Regions from separate parts of the Homo sapiens genome. Here region 1 is linked to region 2. The links are contacts of gene promoters, found by promoter capture Hi-C in human tissues and cell types (Jung and others, 2019). All regions are on one chromosome and are shown on one strand. The core of a region is centred on a gene start or on the middle of the fragment in contact, and the rest is flanking DNA. Distances in the headings are between cores, read along the strand shown. Region 1 overlaps LOC124904280 (a long non-coding RNA gene). Region 2 holds the start of NOL4 (nucleolar protein 4).

Region 1 (7,009 bases), core at 661-3,160, 44 kb after region 2:
CCTTTTACCTTCCGCGATGATTGTGAGATCTTCCCCAGCCACATGAGTCAAATTAAACCTCTTCCTTTTGTAAATTGCTGAGTCTCTGGTATGTCTTTATCAGCAGTATGAAACGGACTAATATAATAATCATAAAAGCCAAGTCCCAACAATAAATCTCTGTGTGTGTACATGTATATGTATACATATATATACATCTATTTATAGATACACATAGAGATATATCTGTATAGATATGTATCTATCTATCTACACATCCTCTTCATTATGTTTCTCTGGAAAACTCTGACTAATGCAAACATCATCATATATTTAAAATTACCATATAGATTAAGCATCCCTAATCTAAAATCTGAAATCTGAAGTGCTCCAAAATCCAAAACTCCTTGAATACTGACATGACACCAAAAGTGGAAAATTTTACACCTGACTTTATGTGATGAGTCACAAAATATAGATGCACAACACAGTTTGTTTAGTGCCTCCAAGGGATAAAAGACCGTCTCAGCTTCCTTTAGCTGTGAGATTCCCCCAGGGAACACATGCACAAACGGTAACAAAACAGCATGTTTGCAGGCTGGTCATACCAACAGCAGGTTCCCCAATGCCCCACATAGGACCAAGACCTAATGTATTACTCACTGTTTTGTGTGTGTTGTGTTGTTTTTTGTTTTGTGTTGTGTTGTGTTTTGTGTTGTTTTGTTTTGTTGTTTATTCTCTATTCTGTAGTATAAGAGTATTGTTGAGATGTTAAAAAGGCCTGCAGATACTACTGTGATAACAAAAAGAGGCGGCATTTATGTTTATCTATAGCACAGAAAGTCAAGCTGTTGGAGAATCTGGACAGTGGCATAAGTGTGAAACATCTCAGAAGAGTATGGTGTTGGAATGACCACCATGTGTGACATGAAGAAACAGAAGAATAAACTGCTAAAGTTCTATGCTGAAATTGATGAAGAGAAGTTAATGAAAAAACAATTTTTTAAACCACATAAACCTAAAAATGAAGATCTCAATTGTGTATTCAAAGAGTGGATCCATCAGCATCACAGTTAATACATGTACCTTAATCGTATGCTAGACATGAAGCAACAAAAATCTATCACCATGAACTGAAGACTGAAGGGAATTGTAAATATCCAACAGGCTGCATGAAGAAATTTTAAAAAAGACATAACATTAATTTTTTCAAAGATTTTTGGTGACAGAGCATCTGCTGATCATGAAACTGTGGAGAAATTCATTGATGAGTTAGCTAAGGTCATTGCTGATGAAAATAAAACACCAGAACAAATCGATAATTCTGATGAAATATGACTATTTTGGCATTGTTGCCCTAGAAAGACATTGAGTAGAGCTGATGAGACAGCTCCTACAAGAATGAAGGATGTCGAGGACAGAATAACCATGCTGGGATGTGCTAATATGGCAGACACACTTAAGTGAAAATTTGCTGTGATAGACATAACCTTGCATCCTCACTGCTTTCAAGAAATGAATTTCTTGCCAGTCCATTATTATGCTAAGAAAAATGTATGGATCACTAGGGAAATCTTTTATGATGGGTTTCACAAACGTTGTGTACCAGTGGCTCATGCTAACTGCAGGGAATCTGGACTGGATGATTACTGCAAGATATTGTTACTCCTTGAAAACTGTTCTGTTCATCCTTCAGCTGAAATTCTCATCACAAATGATGGTTATGTTGTGCTCTTCCACAAAATGTAACTTTATTAATTCAGTGATGTAACCAGAATATCCTTAGATCAATGAAGAGTAAATGTAAAAACATTTTCATGAACAGCATGCCTAGCAGCAGTGAACAGAGGCATGGGCGTAGGTTTCCAAAAGGAGTTTAGGATGAAGGATGCTATATATATATTGTTGCCAATGCTTGGAACACAGTGACTAGAGACACAGTTCTGGATGCCTGACACAACCTCTGGCCTGCAACTATGTTCAGTTATCATGATGAACAAGGTGGTGACTTTGAAGGATATTGTATGTCATATGAGAAAAAATGATGCCTGAAATCCTTATATTTTCAAAAATATGACTTTAATCAGTGAGCTAGAAAAAGTAGATATTGAAGTTTTTAACATCAGTAATGAGGCTTCAGTTGTTCATTCCTTGACTGATGGTGAGATAGCCAAAATAATTCTGAACCAAGGTGATTTTGATCAATAGTGACAATGAAGCTGGCATTGTTAACACTGTAGAAAAAAGTGCCTATAGATGACATGGTGAAAATATATAATGGGCTTATTGAAGGACTAGAACAGCATGCATTCATAACAAGAAATTGTGTCAGCTTATACAATCAACAAATCAAAGAGAGACTTCTAAGGCGACAACTGTTGTTAATGAGGCACATGACTCTAGGAAACATTTTTTAACAGCCATCCAGAAGAATGCCTTTTCATCAGTAGAGAACCCACTTCTCAGTCTCTCAACTGCTTCTGATGTTTCTTCTCACCTGAGAAAATAAAATAGAGTGTATAGTAACCTTTTAGCCAAAACACAGCATTGTAAGTGGAGACAGAAAGCCTGGCATTGTTCATTGTTGTTGTTGTTTAGCAGCTGAAACAGGTATTTTAGTAATGCCATTGGGCTGCTTAGTTACCCTGGACACATTATTTTTTCACTGTATTAATTGTATGTCATACATTTAATTGTTAAGTACTTATGTGAGAATAAGTGTGAGAAAATTATTGCTTATAGCATACAAATCGAGTCAGGAGAGGCAGTGTTGCCAACCAACCACAGATTGTCAACATGCGTGGCTGAGATAGTGACACCTTTGCTTCCTGATGGTTCTATGTACAAAAGCTTTATTTAATGCACAATATTATATAAAATATTGTATAAAATTACCTTCAGGGTATGTGTATAATAAAAGGTGTAATGAAAGATAAATGAAACTTGTGTTTAGACTTGGGTCCTACCCCTAAGTTGTCTCATTATGTATATGCAAATATTCTAAAATCTGGAAAAAAAATTCTCAACTCTGAAACACGTCTGATCCGAAGCATTTTGGATAAGAAATACTCAATCTGTAATTCTACAATATTATTTAAGAGCCAGTCCATTCTCAAATTTTCTCAATTTTCTCCAAAATATACTTTTAGCCTTTTTTTTAGAACTTTGACTCAATCAAAATTCACACTGCCCACTTCTCTTTTTCTTGTGCATTTGACATTTTGAAGAGACTCAGGCAGTGTAATTGTACAAGGTTCCACAGTCTAGATGTGTTCTTTCCCTCATGGTGTCATTTTTCTAACCCTGTGTATGTCCTACAACACAGGAAGTTAAAGAGAGAGGCTTGATCTTATCCAGGTGTAGCACACTGGGCAAGAATAAGTTTCACGCCCTGCCCCATTTCATCAGGAAACATGATGTCAAGCAGTCCACTGTTAGAGAGACTGCTTTTCATCCCATGGTCAAGATGGTGACTGCCAAATCTTTACAATTTAAAGGTGAATATTTTCCCCCTTTATGCAAGTAGCAAGTGATTTTGTTGTGATGCTTTGCTTTTAGTAAATATCCTGTTTCTCCAAAACATTTTCTTTAATGACTTTAGCCTCTAAGTCCTTTTCTGAACTATTTTACTCAGTGTTAAAAAATAATCATTTTCTAATTCCCTCATTCCCTCTCTTCTCTAAACCGGCATTAGTAAACTTCTGGTATTTGTTTGTTTGATTGTTTTTAAAGAGCTTTATCTCATACCATCGTCTGAAATGTACTTCCTGCAAGCGTGATAACAAACGATTAACTTTTCCGCTAATTACTAATTTTAAAAATAAAGAGTTAGTATAATAATCTCCTCATTGCAGCAGGTATCTTACTGTCTGACACCATGGTGGTGTCATAGATTTTTATGTATTTAATGGTTATAGTCAGTTCTGTTCATTATCCTTTTTGATGCTCAAATTATTCCAAAACTGGTTCTCGGTTTGTGTGCATGTCTCCATTCATACAGAGTTTGCTTGTTTTCTGGCATAACAGGATGTATCAGGTTCACTGTGTACTCTCCATGAGCCAGTCCTACAGCAGCCATTTCTCAAAAATAGTATTTAGAAACCACAATCTGGACATTAGGTGTGCTCATTAGATAAAATATTTTTAAAATAATTTTTAAATTCATGGTTGAGTTGGCAGGAAAATAGAAGCTTTTGGAGGCATCTAAAGAGGTAAGAAAACACTTATGGTGGTGTAGCATTTTGGCCTTTAATGAGCCACAGACATGGAGAACAATCAAAATTACTGTTTATGGAGCACTCAAAAAAGAAAGATAAAAACAGAAACCACCACACAGAACCTGAGATCCTGAAAGGCAATGCACTGTGTGGTTGAATTAGGAAGATTAAAAAAAGAAAAAGAAAGAAAAAAGCAGAAGGACATGGTAGAATATTTGCCTAGTTTGGCCATGAATCTATGTAGAACTAGAAAGAAAAAGAAAATTTTCCCCTGAAATTTTCCAAACATGAGTGTGCCTTTACTTGAGATTGAGAAATAAATTAAGTAGTACTACCTTTCTGGCCAACAAATTCTGTAAGTCAAACACTAAGTAATCCTACCGCACACTCAACTATAGAAAACAGAAAAATTCTTCTCTGAAGAAATGGGTTTTATATCTCAACTTCATAACATTTTCACATTAGCAAAATAACTACCATCAGAGAAAGATAGAAAAACTGAATTAGCAGGAGGAAATATTTTAAAACCTACAGAATACTACCCCAAAGATACAAATATTGGTATTATCAAGTCAGGAATATTAAAACAAAAGGCTTAAAGAAAAAAAAATACAGGTAAATATGTAATACAGAACAAGAGATTATCAAAAATAACCAGAGAGATGTTTCAAAATTTCTAAATAGAATTTTTACAATCATTAAAATGAGTAGCTCAATAGATGGGTTAAAAAGCAAACTCTAGGGGCCGGGCATGTGGCTCAGCCTGTAATCGCAGCACTGTGGGAGGCCAAGGCGGGCAGATACTTGAGGTCAGGAATTTGAGACCAGCCTGGCCAACATGGCAAAACCTTGTCTCTACTAAAAATATAAAAATTAGCTGGGCATGGTGGCGGAAATCCCAGCTACTTGGGAGGCTGAGGCAGGAGAATCGCTTGAACCCAGGAGGAAGAGGCTGCAGTGAGCTGAGATCGCGCCACTGCACCCCAGCCTGGGCAACAGAGTGAAACTCTGTCTCAAAAACAAGAACAAAAACAAAAAGCAAACTCTTGGCCACTGGGTAAAGAGAGAATTTATGTAAGAGAATATTGAGCTTAAAAAGTCACCCAAAATGTAGCCCAAAGTCGTAAAGAAATGAAAATATGAAATAGAAGTTAAGAGATATTGAGGATAAAGTTAAAAAGTCACTATATGTCTATTCATAGTTCCTGAGAGGGGAATAGGGAGAATGGATAAAAGGCAATATTCAAAATGATAATGGCTGAGAATTTTCCAGAAATGATAAAGACACCAATTCTGAGGCTCAGAAAGTCCAATAGATTTTCAGCAGGATTACTAAAGAGAAACATACGCGTAGATGTACTATAGGAACTACAGTGGCACTGAAGATCAATAAAGAGAAAGTGAAGACTTTAAAAGCAGTCTGAGAGAAAAGACATTTTTTATGAAGGAACAACAAAACAGCTGAATTCTCAAAAGCAAAAATAGAAGCCAGAAGACAGCTGAATGTATATCTTCAAAGAAGAGAAAATAGATGCCAACCAGAATGTTATGTCTTCCCAAAACTATCATTCAGGAATGAGAGGGATATACAGACGTTTTTAGCAAACAACAACGAAAATGAAGATGAAATAGAGATTACATCGCCACAAAAACAAACACAAAATCTTATAAGAGAACAGTGAGTGAATATACTTTAGAAATACAAGAGATGGTTTCAGAAGGAAGGCCCGAGATGCAAGAGGACACAGCTATCAAAGGTGCCAAATTTAAATAAAAAATTGCCCTCAAGGTTCAAGGAAAAATTAAAATTAAATTCTAGATAAAAAAACTGCATCACAATTAGGCTACATTATTTGAATTAAAGTATCAGAAAAGCTGTGTATATTGATAAAAGGCCCAATTCACTAGTAATATGTAAAATTCTAAACTTCATCCAATAATGTATCTTTTGAATATCTAAAGCAAAAGGACAAAACTATATGGCAAAATTGACAAATTCACTATTATAGCAGATTTTAATATAACTTCCTCTGTAATTGATATAGATAAATCAGACCAAAAAATTTGAGGATGTATAAGATTCAAATATCACAATTCACAAGCATGTTCTATAGAAAAAATACACTCCCAAAATTGAAAGTATATGTACTTTTCAAGTACTCAGAGCAAAATTTACTCATTTAATGAACCATAAAACTAGCATCTGTAAATTCTAAAACCTCATTACCATAACAGCTAGATATATCTTTTCTGACTACATTTAAGCTAGAAATCAATTATGAAAACTAACTTTAATCACTCACACATTTGAAAATTTTAAAATATGCTATTAAATAATTCAGATCATAAAAGAAATCTTAAAAAAATAGAAAATACATTGAAACAGTGATCATAAAATTACTATGTACCAAAAAGTATGAAATGCAATAAAGCATTACTTAGAGAAATGCTAATGGATTTAACATTCTTATACTTGAAGAAAAGCTGGAACTTAACGAGGTAATATTCCAATTTAAGAGTGTAGAAAAAAGAAAAACAGAATAAATCCAGAGTAAAGCTAAAGACACAAGAAATGAGGAAATAAAGACAGCTCTGAAGTTAATGGAAAACAAAAATAGTAATACTTTCTTCTGAATAGTAGTTCTTGGAAAAGGCCAATAATCTGACTGTCCTCTGGTAAAACTAATCAAGAAAAAGAGCACGTGCTATAAATGTGAAATATGTAAGAAATTTTTGTTTTTTTGTTATTCTAACAAATATGTTTTACTATACTTAGTTTCCTGTATAATCTTGTGTGTTTATTTTTTGCATAT
Region 2 (7,075 bases), core at 373-2,872:
GCACTTCGCACCTGTTCACCCTAGGCTCATGAAAAATGCAGCCCCGGCCACGTTGCAGGGATGCGAGGTCCCGGCCGCAGCGGGAGCCTGCTTTGGGTGGGGGAAGGGATGGGAAGAGGGGAGGAGGGTCCGGTTGGGCACCAGCAATCAATGCCCCGTGCTACCAAGTCTGGTCCATTCGTAATTGCAACGGCTGTCTCGGACGTTTTTCCTGTTCCCTTAGCGGTCGGTCTCTTTAATATTTTGTGACCAGGACCATCCCAACACCATTCTGGCCCAGAGGAGCTGGGTTTTCAATAATTAAAATCCCATTCCTTGGTTTATTAAAAATCCCAATATTGAATTGGGGTGGTCCCTAGACGCCTCGCCCCCGGGCTGCGTCCGGGGCTGGGCAGGTGGAGCGCAGCGCCGCCTCCCCGCGCGCGCCCCAGAAGCTTCCCCAGCCACTGGCCCCGTGGTCCAGGAGTGAGGGCTGCGCCTCTCCCGAAAGCAGCCGCCCGCCCAGCGCCTTTGAGCCCCGAAGGGCACACGGGTCCCGGATCTCTCCTTCCTCCTGGGTCCTGCTTTGACCTTCCCCACGACGGGTGTTAAGGGACTAGAAAGAGAAAGTTCTTACCTGTCATGTTTTTAAACCTATCAAATTCTGTTTTACAGAATTTTTTATCAAGATATTTTTTAAAACGGTTTAAAATGTCATTTCTTCAGATGCATTTTGAATAAATTCCAGCCCTGTATGTAGATTCTACGAGTTAAGTCCCAGAAATTAGCAAAGCATTGATGGAGATTTGGCCATAGTTCTACAGGATAGATTGTAGTGCCCCAAACAGATATCCGTTCCAGGGGGATGTGGGTAACCGAAGGCAGGCCGCTGGCGGCGGGTATCCCGAATAATGATGGGACCCCCAGACAGGACTCCTCTGGTTTCTGCTGAACAAGACATAGAAGTAAGTTTAGGATACAGATGCTTGAAAACCTTTGCACGAAATTAAAATATATACAGAAAGATCATTTTCCCCTTGCTTGGTCACAGTTTGCAGTTCACACGGGAGGTTTCAGTTGTCTATTTTCCCCCTGCCACGTCATGGACACCCCCTCCACTGCTCTGAGTAGCCAAATATGAGTTCCTCTGGACTATTTTTCCAAGCAGATGAAGTCAGCAGTTGCTCCATTCAGGACTTCCATCCATTTGTTTCCAGAGCTGGAAATAGGGGAGTTCCCATCCTCCTCGCGCGGCGGCTGCGGCCGCTCCTCTTTATTCTACTCTCACCCGAGGCCCGCGCCCGTCCCGGGGAGCGGCTCTGCCAGGAAAACGGCCCGACCAGTGCCCGGCGCCTGGGCTGCGTCCGAGCCCACCTTCTTCCCTCGTCGTCGTCTCCCAGACTAAATCCCGGAAAGGGAAAGCGGGATGTTTGCGCCCACCGCGCTGTAGCTGGTCCTGACACTTGCAAAATGGTCAGTGGCTCCTGCTCGGCCAGGCTGAGTGTGTGCGTGTGTGTGAGCAAGGGAGCGAGGGTGTGCGGTGTGCAGGGGGTGCGCTGTGTGTGCGCGCGTCTCCGGGAAGGTCTCGCGGCGGCTGGAGCCGGGACTGACAGCCCGGGCGGAGCGCAGGCAGCTCCACACGCTAAACCTCTCGCCTCTCCCCTCACCCCCACCCCTCCCACTCCCCTCTCCTTCCCCCACCCTCCCCGGCCCCTTCCAAGCTCTCTGATTGGCCAATGGGACAAAAGTTTCTGTGGAGACGGCTGGGCGCTGACGTCACGGGCAGAATTGTCCCATTTAGGGATCCCGGGGGCAGTGCGCATGCTGCAGGCTGCAGGTTAGAGGCAGAAGGAGGTAGCAGCGGGCCCGGCGGCAGCCAGGTGGCAGAAAGGAGCACGCAGCATCCAGGTGGGGGGACGACTCCAGCAGGGTTTCCATGGAGATTCCTCTGGGTCTAGCCTAAAAACAGCAGATCAGCTGACACCATTAGCTCAGGACCTAATTACTGCTTATTGGAGCAACAAATGAGGGAAAGGGCCAGCTGCAAAGGAAGAGTTTTTATCCCCCCACCCCATTCCCCCATCTCCTTTCTCCCCCTCTCTCCATCCCTCTTGAGTCCCGGGTGAATTCTCATTAACTTGCAAGATTCCTGCAACAACAGCTCCCCTTCTCCAGAGGCCACCCCGACTGCTTTTATTCTTTTATTTCCTTCTTTTGTATTAAAAAGAAATGCTAAAATAAATCAGTTGTTGAGTCCTTGAATTTTTGTTCAATACGTATTAGACCATAGAGCTCAGAGAAGACACTGTCCAATGAAGTCACAAGTGAATCTAATACAAGGGACTCAGGGGAAAAATATCACTTTCAATTTATTGAGGTGAATCTTTAGATATTTCACATTAAAAAAATCTTAATATCTTAAATACATAAATATTTGAAACACGCAATTGGACAGAAGATATCCTGAACCACCCTTCTAGTGGGGTATACTTCACAGGAGCAACTCTGTTAAGTTTCCCTTTGTGGCATCAGAGCTCAATTTAGTTAGATATTGGTCATGTGTTTCCTGGAAGTTTCTGGAAAGATAATTGGTCCTGGGGTAGTCATTCAAGAATAAGCTGGTTCTATAGAATTCACTTTCTCATATGGTTATAGTTCACAATTATAGAACTATTTTATGCAGCTTTTCATCTAAAAAGGCATCCCATCCCCTCTAAGCTTTATTTATGTACTTTCAGCCTCCAAAAACCTTCCTTAATCATTCAACTTAATATTAACTTTCTTCTATAATCATCTGTATTGTGTCTTTCAAACATTTTTTAGCCCTGTCTTGTAGTAAGCCATACACTTTACATTGACATGTAGTGCATACATACATTTGTTCTGCAAAAATTTTATGAAAACATCTATTTTATTACCTGCAATATACACTGATATTTGCCTTTTTCTCTCCTGTTGATTTTGTTATTATTATTTGGTAAAGTATAGTCCCAACCAAAAAAATTTATTTTATGACCCAGCAAAGAATGACTGGCAACCTACAATTTGAAAAATATTGTTTTAGATCATAATGACTACACTGCTCCTTTTACCTTATTTATATTTTCATATGAGTATGTTTTGTTGGTCAAATAAAATCTTAATTGGAAAACCCTTGAAAGTTTATGTCTTTTTTCTTGTTTTGTGCAATGAACAATGTGCACAGTAAGTGCTTAATAAATTGAGTTAATAAATTAATGAAAGAAGGAGAACAAGAGTAAGGGAAGGAAGGAAGAAGGTAGGCATAATCTTTGTCCATTCTTGTTGGCTTTTGCTGGGTAGTGTTTGGTTGAAGTTGGTCCCCCGTCTTAAGGAAATGACAGGGCTTTACCACACACACATGTGTTCATTGTATTTATAACTATACTTGACACCCTAATGCATAGCAACTAGAACACCCTAGACATACAGAACTCCCAGAAGATAAATATGTCATCAACCCCCACTTGTATTCACTAGATTTGATATACAAGCACAAAAACCCCACAAAATGAAATAGATTATATGAAATACATTCTTTTTAAGAAGAAAAGGTAAATGATTAACTACTGAAAGACTGTTTGCATTGGAGGAAAGGAATACAGGGTTCAAAGATTTCAAGGGTCCTAAGTCTCAGAGCCCTGCAGATTCTCTTGTTTTCAGTGGAACCCAAAGTGTAATATGCTCTGTACTTGCACCCATTATTAGTTGTGCTGGCTGAGCCAACACCTTCAACCATATCTTGTCCACCTAGGAAGGTAGGCACCTAACAAAAATCTAAAATCTGCTTCAGCAACTTACTCTGGACTAATTTTCCTTCTTTGAACTTCTCTAGAGTCAGGTCTGACCAGCCCCATCTCAGGGTCATCCTGAGCTGCTTCCTCAGCTATATGGTTCATGTGAACAGGCTGCCTGGGATTTAACCTGGTATGTTCCCAGGACACTTTCCTCAGAATTGCCTGGCTACAAAGCATATCTCTCCGAAATGTTTTTCTTCACCCCTTCTGAATGCCAATCCCCAATCTGGGCCCAGGGGTCCTGTCTGCCTGGCAGGCAGAGGAAGAAAAGAGAGGAAGAGGAAGGCAAAAAGGTATGTGAAACTTATATTTTAATTTAAAATAATCCAAAACGTGGGCTATCATCAATATGATTTTTGTTATAGAAGTAAAATTTCTTCCAACTTCATGGTCAGTTTGTAAATGACATTTTAAAAATCCAGAAAATCTTGCACTTTATTATCAATCACAAATATTTACACAACACTATGTGTTCATCAGCAAAATGTTAGAGTACAAACAACATAGAATCTGTAATCAGAAAATCCATGTTCAAAGAATAAACAAGCTTTCATTCCTTCAAATAATTGTGGTTTTTATTAAACAAATATTAACCAAGCTTCAGTTACTCTCACAGGTTCTAGGGTTAACGTCCTCAGCAAGACAGATGTATATGCATGGTTCCCATCTCATGGAACATAAATTCTTCTAAGGACAGCAGACAACAAAGCAAGAAATAAATAATTAGAGCTTTATGTAAGTGCTGGGAGGGGGAAAAATAGCAGCATAAGAGAAAACAGTGACAAGGTAGAGAGACTTGATGAGCTTAGGGAAGATCTTTCTGAGTAGGTAACATTTATCATGAGACCTGAAGATTCAAAGGAGTCAATTATGTGAAGCCAGGAAGGTGAACTATAGGCAAAGCGCAAAGGTCCTAACGTAAAAGAACTCTTGGCATGTTTGAGGAATAGAAAGAAGGCCAAGGCAACTGGAGCTTGAAAGAGAAAGGTAGAACGTGAGATCTGAGTAGACTTCTGCAGCCAGATCTTGTAGGGCATTGCTTACATTTTATTGATAAGTGCTTATATTTTATTGGTCCAGTGGAAAACCAGTAAGATATCTCAGGCAGGAGAATTATATGATATGATATGCATTTTTATTAGTGTCACTGGCCACTTTGAGGAGAAAGGATTGGAAAGGGACAAGCATGAAAGCAGGAAGACCAGCTAGAAAAAATGGTGATAGTTGAAGTAGTAGCTTAGATGAACTATTACGGCGATAGATTAGAGTATTAACAGAGGAGGTAGAGGGAGAGAAGTGATGGGTTGAAGATACAGTTTAAAGAAAGAATAGAGCTTCCTGAATGTGTATCTCCTCCACCCCCCTGCCCCCACCCCACAATCCATATGTTGAAATCCTAACCCCCAAGGTGATGGTATTAGGAAGTGGCACCTTTGGGAGCTGATTAGGTAATGAAAGGAGAGCTGGTCATGAATGGAATTGGTGCCTTCATGAAAGAGGCCTCACAGAGCTCCTCTGCCACTTCCTCCATGTGAGGACGCTGAAAAGATGGCCATCTATGAAGAGGAGTCTCACTAGACATCACATCTGCCAGCATCTTAATCTTGGACTTTCCAGCCTCCAGACCTGTGAGAAATAAATTCCTGTTGTTTATAAGCCACCCAGCCTATGGTAGTTTGTTATAGCAGCCCTAGTGAACTAATACACTGATGGACTGCATGTATCAGATGAGAGAAACGATTGAATCAAAGACGACTACATGGTTTCTGGCTTTAGTAGTGAGGCTAGTGAAGCCATTGACTTACAGAGAAATGTTTGGGGGAGGAACAGATTGGGAGTTGGAGGCTGAGGGAGGAGCAGAAGCAAGTTGGGGTGGAGAGGCAGGAAGAAAGAATTTAATTTCAGAGAAGTTAAATTTGAAATACCAGGAGAGTTGTTCATGTAGGAATTGAATATAGAAGCTTGAACTACAGAGAAAAGTCTGGATTGGAGATATAAATACAGGGAATTTAAAGCCATAGGAATGAATGACATCACCTTTGTCCACATTTCCTACAAAAAGGGAAAGCCCCCATCTTTTGATATTGAGTTTGTATATACTAATACCTTATGACTAAAATAGAATGTCATGTACTGAGCAGCAGAAGTTGGCTTCTATTGATATAATACTGGTATTGGGAAAAACCTGAGAAAAATAGCAAAGCAGTTTGGATGAATCCTTGACTAGACCTAAACTGTTAGTAATTTCCAAATTTACATGGACTTAAAATCATTTAAAACTTAAAAGTGAAGCTGTGAAAGCTTTGGTTAGACCTATTCTGGATTAGATCAGGACCTGGAGGCACGCTAAAATAGGAATCAAATTTTAGGATGTCCTATGATCACATTTCCCATTGAAGGGGTTGACTAGAGACTTGTCTACTGAGTTAAGTTCATAAAAGAATTTGAGCCTTTTAGCTAGATTAGAGATTATGGAGCATGGTACTTGCTACTTTGAAAGCTGAGGTTCTGAACGTTATTATGCATTCAGAGGGTTAAAAGTCTATTAATAATCCCGTCAAGGAAAAGAAAGTTGTAAAGGAAGCAAATGACCAACTCAATCAGCAACTTGATTATGACATAATTTATTAACTTTTCAAAATGACACAAAATAAACAAAGCAGAAATGCCCTGTTTATGCAGGTAGAGAAATTTGGAACTTTGTAGAAATTGTCACAAATCTGATTTTATTAGTTGACTTCCAATGTATTGACTCTTCTACCAAATAATTTTGAAAAGAGCCTGTCTTTAGTATGCAATAGCTATCCTTTAATTAAGAAAAGAAACACTTTTGAGAGAGTTTAAATATTTTTCTGATCTTTATGGCGGTGATTACTAAGACACAGAAAAACACATATTTTAATTTGTGAACTGTAATATCAGTATCTTTATTCCACTTTCTAACCCAAAAGAAAAGATTAAAAATTTGATGTTTTTTGTTTTGCCCAAATTTACTGATATTTACGTTTTGTAAGAATTTCATTACATATTATGCGTTAACCAAAATTTAATTTCCATAAATACTTAAGTGTGCAAATTAAGAACACATTAGATTTGATAGTCTAGTTGATTTTCTAAATTTCTCTTTAATTTCTACTTTTAACATGATCCTATGAGCAAGTCCATGGTACAGCCAGTTCCTGCATTTTGACAGTGGCATATGGATTTATTCAACATTCATCCATCCGACATTTTCATCTAGCTGCAATAGCTATGATAAAGTCCAAAGTTAACAGTCTGGT

What was found. The method cuts DNA at HindIII sites, captures the fragments that hold promoters and counts their contacts. A contact is called where the count stands out against the background at its distance.
Region 1: a fragment that was not itself captured here is called in contact with the fragment with the promoter of NOL4 in region 2 in 1 of the 25 tissues and cell types used here (mesendoderm cells).

The regions. Positions count from the first base shown.
Region 1 is chr18:34,267,389-34,274,397 of GRCh38, forward strand. It overlaps LOC124904280 (a long non-coding RNA gene), which reads right to left. Exons shown (of 2, transcript XR_007066331.1): 2 at 2,040-2,476. Among named protein-coding and RNA genes, the nearest start is that of NOL4, 46 kb to the left of the region's middle. The HindIII fragment of the contact is 3,178 bases long and covers 322-3,499 here.
Region 2 is chr18:34,223,291-34,230,365 of GRCh38, forward strand. NOL4 (nucleolar protein 4) reads right to left here and starts at 1,623. Exons shown (of 11, transcript NM_003787.5): 1 at 1-1,623. The HindIII fragment of the contact is 4,883 bases long and covers 1-3,519 here.